Linked DNA regions of Homo sapiens: regions 1 and 2 are each linked to region 3. Evidence: promoter capture Hi-C in 16 types of primary human blood cells and fetal thymus (Javierre and others, 2016). All regions are on one chromosome and are shown on one strand. Each heading gives the region's core, a stretch centred on a gene start or on the middle of the fragment in contact. The rest is flanking DNA. Distances are from core to core; before and after follow the strand shown. Region 1 has its middle 160 kb from the start of TRIM33. Region 2 overlaps TRIM33 (tripartite motif containing 33). Region 3 holds the start of AMPD1 (adenosine monophosphate deaminase 1).

Region 1 (4,499 bases), core at 1,053-3,552, 340 kb after region 3:
CCCCCTAACCACGTTCTATTTTGGATGAAGAAAGCTTCCCTTAAGCAAACCAGACTAAAGGGAAACCAAGGATGGCCTTGCATGTCTTAATATTTCTTTATGTTTCAGACTGGCTTTTGCACTTTCCTGCAAGCTGACTCACACAGTCAGAAGGCCCTACCTCCTCCATGTGAAAACGGAGAGTTAATTTGCATGCTGCTGCCTTTGCCAAGCCTTCCTGTCTTACGTCCCCTCCCAGTTCCAGTGGCCCTCCCTCCTCCCCCACAGCTGGCCCACTGCCCACCTGTACTGTGGTACTGTCTGCCTGGAGTCTGAGGTCTTGCCTGCTCTACTTCCTGACTGAGCTTCCCCTGCACGGCAGAGAGGTCCTTCTCACCTAGCATCCTACTGAGGGCCTGCCACGGAGTAGGTATTTAATGAATGCTTCCCAATTCAGATGAAAAGAAATCTCATTCCATTAAGTTATTGATTTCGAATTGAAATTTTATCATTAATTGTGGGAGGCAACCCTGACTTCTTAGGCCCAATCCTCTCCTGTAGGTCTCCTAGAGAAAGACATGATTGGGAAGCAGAAAGGGTTTGATAGCTCAGCCTTCCCCATCTCCCCTTGGCTGCTCAGCGGAGCTGCCTCTTGAGAAATGCTGAGCTGCCTGCCAGCCCGTGCAGCCTGTCAGCTCCCATCTGCCAGCCCCATCTGCTCTTCCCCAGCCACACTGCTGTTCGCTGCTGCTGCTGGGCCCTCTCCTATCATCTCTGGCTCGGCCTCTACTTGCTGCCTCTCAGCTTCTCCCCAGGGAGCTGGTTGCCCTGACTTCCTTTGCACCTATTCTCCTCCTCCTGCCAGTTTCGGCTCAATTACCCTCCCCACACCGACTCATTCCTCCTGCAAGGGGTCTGAGGCTCCACTATCGAGCAGTCAAAAGGAAAAAAACATGGAGCCTTGCCTTTCCACCACACACACCACCTCCAACTCAGGCAGGCAGTCTCCCTGCTGAGGTTGAGGAGGGCAAGGCCTGAGGGTCTTACAGCAAGACAGGTCTCCTTAGGTGGGCAGCAAGCTCCTAGGCTGGGAACGGACAGAATCTTACTGCTCAATGGAATCTCAGATATCAAGTCTAGAGGCAGATGGGGAACAGCAACCCTGGAGGAGAGGCATATTGACCGGGGTGACACTGTTGGCTCCCTACAGAGCAGAGACTGGAACACAGGTTTCCTGACTTCATCCAGCCAATATTTACTGAGCATCATCTGTGTGCCAGGCAATTGATTAGATCCACACCTACCTCAAGAAGCTCATGGTCTCGTTTGCACTCCCAGCACAGGGCTCTTCCCAGTCACAGCTGCTGATATAGGATAAGTTTTAAGGCATTGCTATAAGCAAAAATGATTGCCATCTTCCTAACTTCATGCATGGCAAGGGCTTAAATGTCCTCACATCTTTATCCAACAAATTGGTCTCACTTTTCCCAGCCCCAGGTTTACAACAGCAGGGTTCACACAACCATCCTTTTTGCTTGTGGGGTGAGATTGTCCTAGGGGTGCTGGAGAATAACCTGGGTTTTACGCAGTGGTGATCAGGAGACCCCAGAGGCTTTGTCTCTGCAGCCTGCCTGCCTCCGACATGTTAACAGCAATCAGTATGATTTTGACCAATTTTTCTGACTTCACAGTTCCCGGGAAGCCCTTTTCTACATCAGACAGTTCCCTGTGAGCAACACCAGCTTTCCCAATGCCCTAAAACTATGTCCCCCACTTCTGTGACTTGATGTGTGGGAGACCACCATTAGTGTCTTTCCACAAGGTCATGTATTGTCATATTGATTCATTGAATCCAAAGACCTCTAGAAAAGTAACAATAGCCAACATTTATGAAATGCTCATTTTGTTCTAGGCCCTGTTTTAAGCACTTTTGGTGTAACAATTGTTTTAGTCTTCCTTGATGATTATGAAGTGTGCTACCATTATTAGTCTCATTTTAGAAATGAAGAAACTGAGGTTTAGAGGAGTTAAATAATTGCTCAAGATCCCAGTTGCTGGGAAGTGGTAGACCTCAGATTTAAACGCAGCTAACCTGACTTCAAGTCTATGCACTTCACTGCTATACCTCCCTGCGTTTGGTGCATGAAGTCACTATGACCTTGGTACCAATTCATTCCTCTGGGGCATTCCTCCATGGCAACTATAGAACAAGCTTTCGGGTGGGATGTCTACAATAATTGTGTAGGTGGGGAGGTGGTGATCCATCTTGTCCATCAGTTCCCATTGCCTCTGGGCCTGGCCTGACATGAGTTGGGACAGCGTCCACCACATCAGGAATGTGGCACTTGCCAGGGCCCAGGAGCCAGTGGCTGAGGTGTGGGGTGGGTGGATGCCTGGGAGCTCGGAGATGCTGGAGCACGTAGGCTCAAGCTTGCAGTGCTGGCCTGTCTTCTACTGCTTTGCTCTGGACATGTAAGAAAACTGCGTCCCCAGCCTGGCCAGTCAACAAGCCAAGAGAGTGGCATAGGTGGGTGGCAGTGGATGGAGGGTGCTGAGCACAAAGGCCAGCACAACCTCAGTACCCTCCACTCTCACATGGTCCGACTCCTTTTAGCCCCAAGGAAGGGAGAAGAGAACATGCTGTTTGGAGGAGGCCGGGAAGAGCCCTGGAGGCACCGACTGGCCTCAGGATACTCCCATGCTCCTGGGGCCCTGGAGCAGTGCCTCCTCTACCTACCAAAGTTCTTTGGAGCAAGGCAGGGGATGGGCAGGCATCTGAAATTGAGCACCAAATGACAGGGGTGGGCAAGGGGGCTGGGCGGTGAAGGGCGCTGCAGGGAGGACTCTGGTGGAGCAAGGGCCACTGACAATGTCTCCTCACCATCAGCACGGAGATCCCTGCCCAGGATCTGCAGCCCTGTCCCCATTGGTCTGCACTCAGGGGAGGCTCAGATGTTAACATCTCTGGTTCTTTTAGAGACTAGGACAGGACAAAAGAGGAAAGGACGCATTTGCCTGTGGATGGAAGAGGCTAGCCAACAAGAAGGGCACTGTCTCTAAGTGGTGGGTTAGGAGAGGGTTGACAGCTCCTGCACGTGGCCACCAAGTCAAGTCTCTTTCCCAGCCTCCCTTACCTGAGCAAGTCCTGCGAATGACAAATGAGCTGAAATCATACACCTTAGTTCCCAGAATGTTATATTCTTGCACTTAAGAGGACTGAGTGTGTGTTCCCATGTCTTTCCTGGCCTGCTGGCTAGGCATTGGCAAGGACTGTACTAGCCATTTGCAGCTGCAAACGGAAGCCATGCCTGAGGATGGCAGAGCCACACACCAGCCCTGGACCACTTGCCTACCTCCGGACTGTCACCTGGAGAGAAACTTCTTTCTTGTTTAAGCAGTTTATCCTTTGCCGGAGGACACGTGCTTCCACGTGGAAAGGCAGAGTGGAGCAAGGAGTGGTGGGTGGGCATTGCAGGATGCTTCCATCCTGACCAAGTAGACTGAATGAGGGACTTTACCCAGCTCTGGAGCTGGAGCTCCCATTTTCATGTGGAATTCATTCAGCAGGACACCGGCTATGTCCGCAGCCCCTTCAGGAGAGTGGCCTGAAGGACAGCCTTCTTCCTAGTATCACTGATGAGACCTGGGCTGGGGGAAAGCGGAACCCGAGGACACCCTGTGCCTGAGCTGGGAAGCAGCCTGCAAAGATAGGCTGGGCCAAGCAGATGCTCTTTTTGAACATAAGAAAGAAAGAATCTGCCGGCCGACTATCGTGCCGGAATAATGACATGGATAAAGTGAGCTGCAAAGTTCACAGAAAACATTATTTTCCTCAAGGACACAGTGCAGCTGTAAAATGTCGTAACTGTCTTCTTTGAGTGACTACTGTTTTCTCACTCACTGAGAAACTTTGTCCTCTAAAATATAGACTATCAGAAATTTCACTGTTTGAAATTACATCAGTAAGAATAAAACACCTCTCTGTTGCTTAGAGGATCTCAGTCATTGACACAGGGAAGTAGCCTTAATTTACAGTCCATGTGCAGAGCCTCAGGTAAGGGGTTTCTGGACACAACATTTTACATATATCCCAACTTTAGATTCCAAGGTCAGAGGTCCTTGGATTCACTTTGCATTCCAGACCTGACATTGCCCCTTCACATTCAGCTTTGCCTTGCTGTGAGCCTAGTAAGACACTGATCATTTAAATGTCACGTAAACACCACCTTCCCCAACAATGTATAATAATCAATCTCCTACATTTGGTGAGATGCCTCATGGTTCCTCTGGTGTGTGGCTCTTTCACTGCAACAAGTCAATAAACCTGGCTTTGTCAGGTCACCCCACATTTGTCCCTGGGGGCCTGAGGCTGTTTGGTCTAAGATGGGCATTGGAATTTGTGAATATGGAGAAAATCACGCAGCATGGGGACTTCAGCTGAAGGATCCTGCTGTAGGGCAAGACCAAGAAGTTGAGTGAGGGTCTTGGAAGGCTAAAGTTACAAGGAGGTAGAAACTATC
Region 2 (4,287 bases), core at 182-2,681, 290 kb after region 3:
TGTTATTACCTTTATGGACTGAGATATTTAAACATACTTTATATATTTTAATCCATTATATATGTTACGTCTGTATGTATGTATATTGAACACTGAACATTATTCCATCTTTGTCCTGTCAAAGCTTTCTCAGGCTTGCTCCTTAGTCCTTTTGCTATAATCACAGCAGTCTTTTTTAAGCTTCCATGTTTCCTGTGAAACAGCATTTCGGGTTCATTTTGTACATTTCATGCTTCAGACCTGGAATCAGCCACTTTCCCAGGAAGTTCTGGTAGTGTTAGCAGGAAAGCAGGAAAATAGTGTTTGAGGATAATATTCTAGTACTAATAGCACTCATTGCTACTGAATTGTTCATTGTTTCTTAGGCCTTTTCAGTGGACAGAGCTAAGAAATAGGAGTGTGTGTGTGTGCGTGTGTGTGTGTGAAGAAAGTGCTTCAAACCATAAAATGTGTTTTTAGGGTCTTCTGAAAGTTGCTGCATAATTTTAAAGAGTTTTAAGCTAGGCTTTATACCACATTCCCCTTAACTACATTATGAGGTATCCTTATCTTCTGTAAAGTTAATTGTCTATTGTCTTCACTTTAGTGAACATTACTTTTCATATAATTGTTTTTATTTATACCATATAGTCAAACGTATGTGATCTTTATTTGTTGTTTCTTATTAGCTGTGGGTCATCAGGAAGAACTGCTGAGAAGACAAGTCTTAGTTTCAAATCTGATCAGGTGAAGGTCAAGCAAGAACCTGGGACTGAAGATGAAATATGTAGCTTTTCAGGAGGTGTAAAACAAGAAAAAACAGAGGATGGCAGGAGGAGTGCTTGCATGGTAAGCTCCCACTGGAGTCTGACAGGGACTTAAGGACATCACTTCATTGATTCTTTCAGCTCTGAGTATATTAAGACTAAGTAGTGGGTCTAGAAACATTTATTTTTGAAATTTCATGCCTGGCACAAGCCAGATATCTCTTTTTCTAACTCAACTTTTTTGTCTAAGAGTCAGCTGTAATTAATCAGAAAAGACTTAATTGTATTAAGTACTCATTTGAAATTATCTTTGAATTTGTATTTAGTCAATATTCTTCCCATGATGCTAAATCAGATTGTATCTTGTCCTGAAATTATTATTTCAGTAGTCACATTGAATCTCAGGCCACAAAAGATCTTTGGGATTCTCCTGGACCTGTGAGCTCAGCATTAAGATTGCTGACATGAAAGAAATTTATTGATCAGAGTTTTGTGATAGGAAGTTTGTCTTTTGGCTTACGTATTACTAATCATTCTGGAGTTCCTTGAGTGGAACATTTATAAAATTTCTAATACAGAATGAAGGAAGGCCAAGCCCCTCTTGGTTTAAATATTTTGATTTTTGTTTTCTCTTTCTGACCGGGCTTCTTTTTCCTTTTTTATATGGTTGGCACATGGGAATTCATCTCAAGGTATTGGTATATTTAACACAGTATATATAGATTCAGAGAGCAAGAGATTCAGCCTTGGTTTTGGAGTATTGTTACGTCTTCATCCAGAACTTGGTTTAGAAAGTACCCCCATAAAAAAAATGGGTGCCAAGGTTGGTGAACAATTTCTTTTATGTTGTTGCAGCCTTCCTACAATATAGTAGAATGATAGGTGAGCAGAAGAATATTATAGAATGCTTCTAAAATGCTATGCAAAAGATTCTGGGTGTGAAAAGGGGTGTGCCATAATTAGCTCTCTCAAGGAAAAGTATAACCCTATGCTCACTTCCCAATCAATAGCTTAACAGTTTAATTAATTTACTTATTATTTGAGTGAGACATTATCAGAGGAGCAGACCCCTTAAAATCATATGTTAGCGTGCCTGAATAATTTTGGGGTTATTGTCATTTCTTTATGGCACTATTGTGATCTATAAAATAAATTTGTTACGTCAGTATATCTATATGCATATTCACATAACTGTTAAATACACATATGGCATACAATAAAGATTAAATGATTCTTCAAGAATTTGTCATCGTTTTGTTTTAGTTGAGCAGTCCTGAGAGTAGCTTGACACCACCTCTCTCAACCAACCTGCATCTAGAAAGTGAATTGGATGCATTGGCAAGCCTGGAAAACCATGTGAAAATTGAACCTGCAGATATGAATGAAAGCTGCAAACAGTCAGGGCTCAGCAGCCTTGTTAATGGAAAGTCCCCAATTCGAAGCCTCATGCACAGGTCGGCAAGGATTGGAGGAGATGGCAACAATAAAGATGATGACCCAAATGAAGACTGGTGTGCTGTCTGCCAAAACGGAGGAGATCTCTTGTGCTGCGAAAAATGTCCAAAGGTCTTTCATCTAACTTGTCATGTTCCAACACTACTTAGCTTTCCAAGGTACCAGTGAAATAATTGATTTTTGGTGTTGATTTTCATAAGCTAAAAATAAATAACAGAAGAATGTTCAGGGCAGATGGCCTTCTAACCAGTGCATAGTATTTCTATAAAACAGGGAGCCTGTTATTCTTTTGGTATTAGCTTCCAGAGAAACTAACAATAAAATATCTAAGATCTAAGTAGTACATTAATGTTAAAGAGTAGATTTCATCTCCTGGCCTTTAGTTTATATTCAGTATAAGGAAAATAGATAAAACTCTAAATTAATAGGGGGCTAAGGTTACAAAACCTGCAGTCTGGTTCTAATTCTGTAGTAAGCTTGAGCAATTCACTAATTATCAGGGATCAGTTTTTGCATCTACAAGTGGTAGGTTTTGGTTTAGCAGAGCTGTAGTTCTTCCCTTCCATTTATTATTTTATGTTCATGCAACCTCTTGTCTCTTGATTTCAGAGACCATAAAATAGTAGAGTCATACTTGTTTTTTTCAGTCTTCTCCTTCCTCTCTTGTCCCCCAATTTCTTTTTGGTGAAAGTAAGTCAGTATTCTTGGGGTAAACCCAGCTTTTTTCTTGCTATAAATTGAAAAAAAAAAAAAAAAAAGATATATCTTCTCAAATTCCTGAGAAGCAGTAACTTTAATTGAATAATAGTGCCCTCTTTGAAAGTGTTAACCTTTTGGATTAGAAAACTAGTAGATATTTAAACAGTGCCAGAATATTTTTCTGAAGAATTGTAATTTCTTACCTAAGTCTTTGGAGATAGAGTTATTTGCTAGAGATGTAATAAGGGCCTTCTTTTTCTTTACTCTTATTTAGAAAAGAAAAGCATTGGCACTTTGATCTTGAAATTAAGAATTTTCTTTTCTTTGGGTAGTAATATTTACTGGAATGTCAGAATTTTGCCACTGAATGCCTTCTTTCAATAGCAAATGCTTTGAAAGGGTTGTAAAATGTTGGCGTAAATTAGCCAGGTGTGGTAGCTCACACCTGTAATCCCAGCACTTTGGGAGGCTGAGGCAGGCGGAGCACTTGAGGTCAGGAGTTTGAGACCAGCCTGGCCAACATGGCAAAACCCCATCTCTACTAAAAATACAAAAAAAAAAAGAACTTAGCCAGGCATGGTGGCACACACCTTGTAGTCCCAGTTACTCGGAGAGCTGAGCCAGGAGAATTGCTTGAACCTGGGAAGCAGAGGTTGCCATGAGCCGAGATTGTACCACTGCACTCTAGCCTGGGTGACAGAGCAGGACTCCGTCTCTAAAAAAGAAAAACAAATAGATTGGTTAGTACAATCCCTAGATTTAGGATCTATGTATATATCTCTCTATATATCTCCATGTATCTGTTTATATAGAGAGAGGGAGTGAATCATTTTAGAATTCATAGTTTGATAAGAAATCCTGATAAAAACAAAGTATATACTTGGCAGGGTTAAAAGATAGGAGGTAGCCGGGCATAGTGGCTTACACCTGTAATCCCAGCACTTTGGGAGGCCAAGGCAGGTGGATCACTTGAGGCTAGGAGTTTGAGACCAGCCTGGCCACCATGGTGAAAAAACCCAATCTCTACTAAAAATACAAAAATTGGCCAGGCATGGTGGCGGGTGCCTGTGATCTCAGCACTTTGGGAGGCCAAGGTAGGCAGATCACCTGAGGTCAGGAGTTGCCTGGTCAACATGGTGAAACCCCATACAAATATTACAAAAATTAGCTGGGCATGGTAGCAGGCCCCTGTGATCCCAGCTACGTAGGAGGCTGAGGCATGAGAATTGCTTGAACCCGGGAGGCAGAGGTTGGAGTGAGCCAGGATCGTGCCACTGTGTACTCCAGCCTGGAGGACCCAGTGAAACTGTGTCTCAAAAAAAATAGAAAAATCTGCCGGTCATGATGGTGCACGCCTGTAATCCCAGCTCCTAGGGAGGCTGAGGTA
Region 3 (4,406 bases), core at 1,598-4,097:
ATTGGAGGCAGGGGAAATAATTAGGAATCTATTACAATTATCCAACTTTGAGGTAACTCATGACTTATCAGGTAGAATTACATTGGCTTCTAATAATAAAAAAAACTGACTAATCAGTGACTAAAACAAATTTACTTTTCCCTTTTTTTTTTTTTTTTTTTTTGAGATGGAGTCTTGCTTTGTCACCAGGCTGGAGTGCAGTGGTGTGATCTCAGCTCATTGCAACCTCCACCTCCCGAGTTCAAGTGATTCTCCTGCCTCAGCCTCCCGAGTAGCTGGGACTACAAGCATGCACCACCACACCCAGCTAATTTTTGTATTTTTAGTAGAGACGGGGTTTCACCATGTTGGCCAGGATGATCTCGATCTCTTGACCTCGTGATCTGCCTGCCTCGGCCTCCCAAAGTGCTGGGATTACAGGCATGAGCCACTGCGCCCAACCATTTTTCTTATGTATCAAGAAGTCTTGCTGGGTATGGTGATGCATGTTTGTACTCCCAGCTACTCAGGAGGCTTGGGTAGGAGGATCACTTGAGTCCAGGAGTTCTGGGCTATAGCAATCTATGCTGATCAAGTGTCCACACTAATTTCAACATCAACAGGGTGACCCTCCAGGAGCGGGGGACCACCAAGTTGCCTAAGGAGTGAACTAGCCCAGGTCTGAAACAGAGCAGGTCAAAACTCCTGTGCTGATTTTAGTAGTAGGATCACTCCTGTCAATAACCACTACACCCTGGCCTGAGCAACATAGTGAGACCCTGTCTCTTAAAAAAATTCCTTAATTAAACAAGAATTCTAAATATGGGAAGTCCTGGACTAATATGGTGGCTTTAGGATGCCATCAGGGACCCTAATTATTTGTTTCTGTTCAGATAGTCTTCATGTGGCTCTTGTCCTGCTCACCATTTGTGTTAAAACAATGGTTGGTTTGGAGGCCCCTATCCACATATTTCCTTTTTCAGGCAGGAAGAAGAGGAAGGGCAAAAGGCAAAACATATGCCAGCTGAGCTGGTCCCTTTTAAAAGAACTTTTGGAGACATCCCACCCAGCAATTCTGCTTACATCACTTTGGCCAGGCTGTGTCAAATGGCCGCTTCTAGCCACAAAGGATTCTAGCAAATGCTGTTTTTTGGCTGAGCACATTAATGCTCAAACCAAAGAAGTTTTTGTTTGTAAGAAAGGTAGGGAAAATGATCTTTGGGTAGGCAACTAGGGTATTTACACAATTGGAATGAGAAAATTGGAGTGTAACTTATATAAAGATAGGAATTACTGAAGGAGAAGCAGGTTCATGGAGGAAGATGCTTGGTTTGGATGTATCAATTTGTGGATACTGTTGGGAAATCCAGGTAAAAATGTAACAAAAAGGAGTTGGAAAGAAATGAACAAATATTTTGGTTCAGTAACACCTTTGTAATGTGTTGCAATATTGTTGATTGAGAGGTTGGCCATAAGGCTAAGCACTAAAATATTGTTAAGTTTTGCCAACAAAAAGGCTTGTCCCAATTTTCAAAAAGAAATAGTTAATAGTAAAAAGATCATTTGGTCTATGCCCATAATTCTGTTGCTAATCTGAAGTGCCAAGCTCATCTTCAATATAAGCTGTTATAATTTAAAATTTCTGCTGAGTCTAGCAGCGTACTTTCTTTACCTAGCAGCAACTATCAAATATTTAGTCATAACTGGCCGGGCGCAGTGGCTCACGCCTGTAATCCCAGCACTTTGGGAGGCCAAGGCAGGTGGATCATGAGGTCAGGAGATCAAGACCATCCTGGCTAACACAGTGAAACCACATCTCTACTAAAAATACAAAAAATATTAGCCGGGCATGGTGGCAGGCGCCTGTAGTCCCAGCTACTCGGGAGGCTCAGGCAAGAGAATGGCGTGAACCCGGGAGGCAGAGCTTGCAGTGAGCCGAGATCGCGCCACTGCACTCCAGCCCGGGCAACAGAGCGAGACTCTGTCTCGAAAAAAATATATGTATATACACATATATATACATATATACATATATATACACACACATATATACAGTCATAACTAAGACTGTGTGTTATTATGGAAAGAGCGTGAGATTTGGGTCCAGAGAGCCTTGGCTTTGCCATTTATGATGAACAGAATGACTTTGAGCAAGATACCTGTCAGAGCCCCAGTTTTCTTATTTGGGAAACAGGGATAAGGTATTACTTGCCTTACAGGATTGTAATTAGTATCAAATAGATAATGTTTGCCAAATGTTTTACATACAATAAAATGTTATACAAAACAAAGCTATTGTTCTTATTATAACAATAGGTAGAGAAGTGGTAACTGGATACTCTGGAGGACAGTTGAGTTTCTGTAAAAGACTTGAAGTAAATTTAACACTTAATTCATTAAACTGTCAACTGAAGTTCTGCTAAGTCAGACACATTACTAATAAAAACATGCATTCCTGAGCGTGTGTGCGTGTGCGTGTGTGTCTGTTGAGAGCTTGATGAATGTACCAGCATATTCACCAACCACAGAAAGCTGTTTGCGTGATGTGAAACCCTGAGGATCATAGCTTCAGAAACCGGAAAGACTTCACTGTATTTCACTAGGGTGGGATATCACCATCAGTGGTCCTACACTTGCCAAAGATCCAGTCTGTAAGAAGATTTAGAGAGTATTGAAATGCAATTTTTGGCCCACCACAGATATCTTCTAATCCCAAAGTAAAGACTGAAAGCTTCACCTGTTTTTCACTATCAAATGCCTCAAGCTATAAATAGGTCCAAAGCTCATCTCTCTCCACTTAGCAGAGAAGAATCAAATTTCCGGGGGCAAAGCAAAATAATAAAATGAATGTCAGGATATTTTATAGTGTCAGTCAGTCACCCCACAGTCTCCTCTCTCTTCTTTTCTACTGTGCTATCCTAGAATCAAGGATTTCAGCAACAATGCCTCTGTTCAAACTCCCAGGTAGGTGTACAAAGTGTTTGGAGAGCTCAGTTGTTGTTGTTTTTTTTTTTTTTTGACAAGCAACTGTTCCTTTAGCTACCATATCAGCTTTGATCATTCATTTAGGGTTCGTGATAGCTTTAACATACATTTCAGGAAAACACAAAATATTTTCAAGGGTTTTTTGTTTGTTTTTAGTTTTGGGATGTGGGTAAGTTTCTAAAACTGTTATCATGTATATTGCATCTTTGATGATCCCAGTAGAAAACTCTGTGAAATATTTAATATCTATTCTGCTAGTCTAAACAAAACCTGTGCTGCCATAGCTCTGAGACGGCTTCTACATAATGACTCTAGCTATGGTATTGGCTGAAAATCATGAACATGACAAAAATAACCCATGTGTGTATTCTGATGGTTCACGAGAATAGCTTTCTGTTGTCCAGGTTTGTACGCAGAGTAATTTTTAAAATAATAATGTTATAATTTTTAAATGATAAAAGCAATACATGTTTCATGTGAAATAGAAATTGTGCTGAAAAAATAAAAGTAATAAACATTCGTTTTGAAAGTTGGGAAATTCAGTAAAAGTAATAATTTTATTTTTTACTTATTTATTTATTTTTTGAGACAGGGTGTCACTCTGTTGCCCAGGCTGGAGTGCAGTGGCACGATCACGATTCACTGCAGCCCCAATCTTCTGGGATCTGGTGATCCTCCCACCTCAGCCTCCCGAGTAGCTGGGACTACAGGCACTTGCCACCACGCCCAGCTAGTTTTTGTATTTTCTGTAGAGACAGGGTTTCGCTATGTTGCCCAGGCTCATCTTAAACTCCTGAGCTCAAGCAATCTGCCTGCCTCAGCCTCCCAAAGTGCTGGGATTACAAGTGTTAGCCACTGCACCCAGCCAAAAGTAATAATTTTAAAAATCTGCACATCCATTATCCAAAGATATTCACTCTTAACATTTTAGTGTTTTTTTTTCTTTTCAATCTATTTTCTGTGTAAAATTAAAGAGTTTTTTTTAAAAAGGCACTGTTATTATATTGCACATGTAATTTTATATCCTGCTTTTGGCAGGATAATGTTTTGGCTTAACTTTACAACTTATCCTTTTACCATGGTATCCCAAACCTTTCCTAAAAACCATTTTAAAAGACTGCATATTCTATTTTCTTAATTAATCCCTTAGGTTCTTTATGGTTTGGGGGTTTTTTTTTGTTTGTTCGTTTTTGTTTTTGTTTTTGTTTTTTTAGAGACAGAGTCTCGCTCTGTCACCCAGGCTGGAGTGCAGTGGTGCGATCTTGGCTCACTGCAAGCTCCACCTCCCGGGTTCATGCCATTCTGCCTCAGTCTCCCGAGTAGTTGGGACTACAGGCGCCTGCCACCACGCCCGGCTAATTTTTATATTTTTAGTAGAGACGGTGTTTCACATATAACACAGTGAATATCTGTATTAGCCAGGATGGTCTCGATCTCCTGAC

Evidence for each region. The method cuts DNA at HindIII sites, captures the fragments that hold promoters and counts their contacts. A CHiCAGO score of 5 or more calls a contact.
Region 1: a contact is called between a fragment that was not itself captured here and the fragment with the promoter of AMPD1 in region 3, in 2 of 17 cell types (naive B cells and total B cells). The highest score is 8.3, in naive B cells.
Region 2: a fragment that was not itself captured here is called in contact with the fragment with the promoter of AMPD1 in region 3 in 2 of 17 cell types (total B cells and naive B cells); the score reaches 6.1 in total B cells.

Annotation. Positions count from the first base shown.
Region 1 is chr1:114,349,194-114,353,692 of GRCh38, reverse strand. No RefSeq gene overlaps it. Among named protein-coding and RNA genes, the nearest start is that of TRIM33, 160 kb to the left of the region's middle. RefSeq lists enhancers at 192-692, 693-1,193, 4,482-4,499 and a silencer at 532-826. The HindIII fragment of the contact is 218 bases long and covers 2,194-2,411 here.
Region 2 is chr1:114,403,482-114,407,768 of GRCh38, reverse strand. TRIM33 (tripartite motif containing 33) reads left to right here. Exons shown (of 20, transcript NM_015906.4): 14 at 669-828; 15 at 2,010-2,359. Among named protein-coding and RNA genes, the nearest start is that of TRIM33, 110 kb to the left of the region's middle. The HindIII fragment of the contact is 2,497 bases long and covers 183-2,679 here.
Region 3 is chr1:114,693,987-114,698,392 of GRCh38, reverse strand. AMPD1 (adenosine monophosphate deaminase 1) reads left to right here and starts at 2,847. Exons shown (of 16, transcript NM_000036.3): 1 at 2,847-2,943. The coding sequence starts at 2,922. It also overlaps the pseudogene RN7SL432P. The HindIII fragment of the contact is 1,819 bases long and covers 2,713-4,406 here.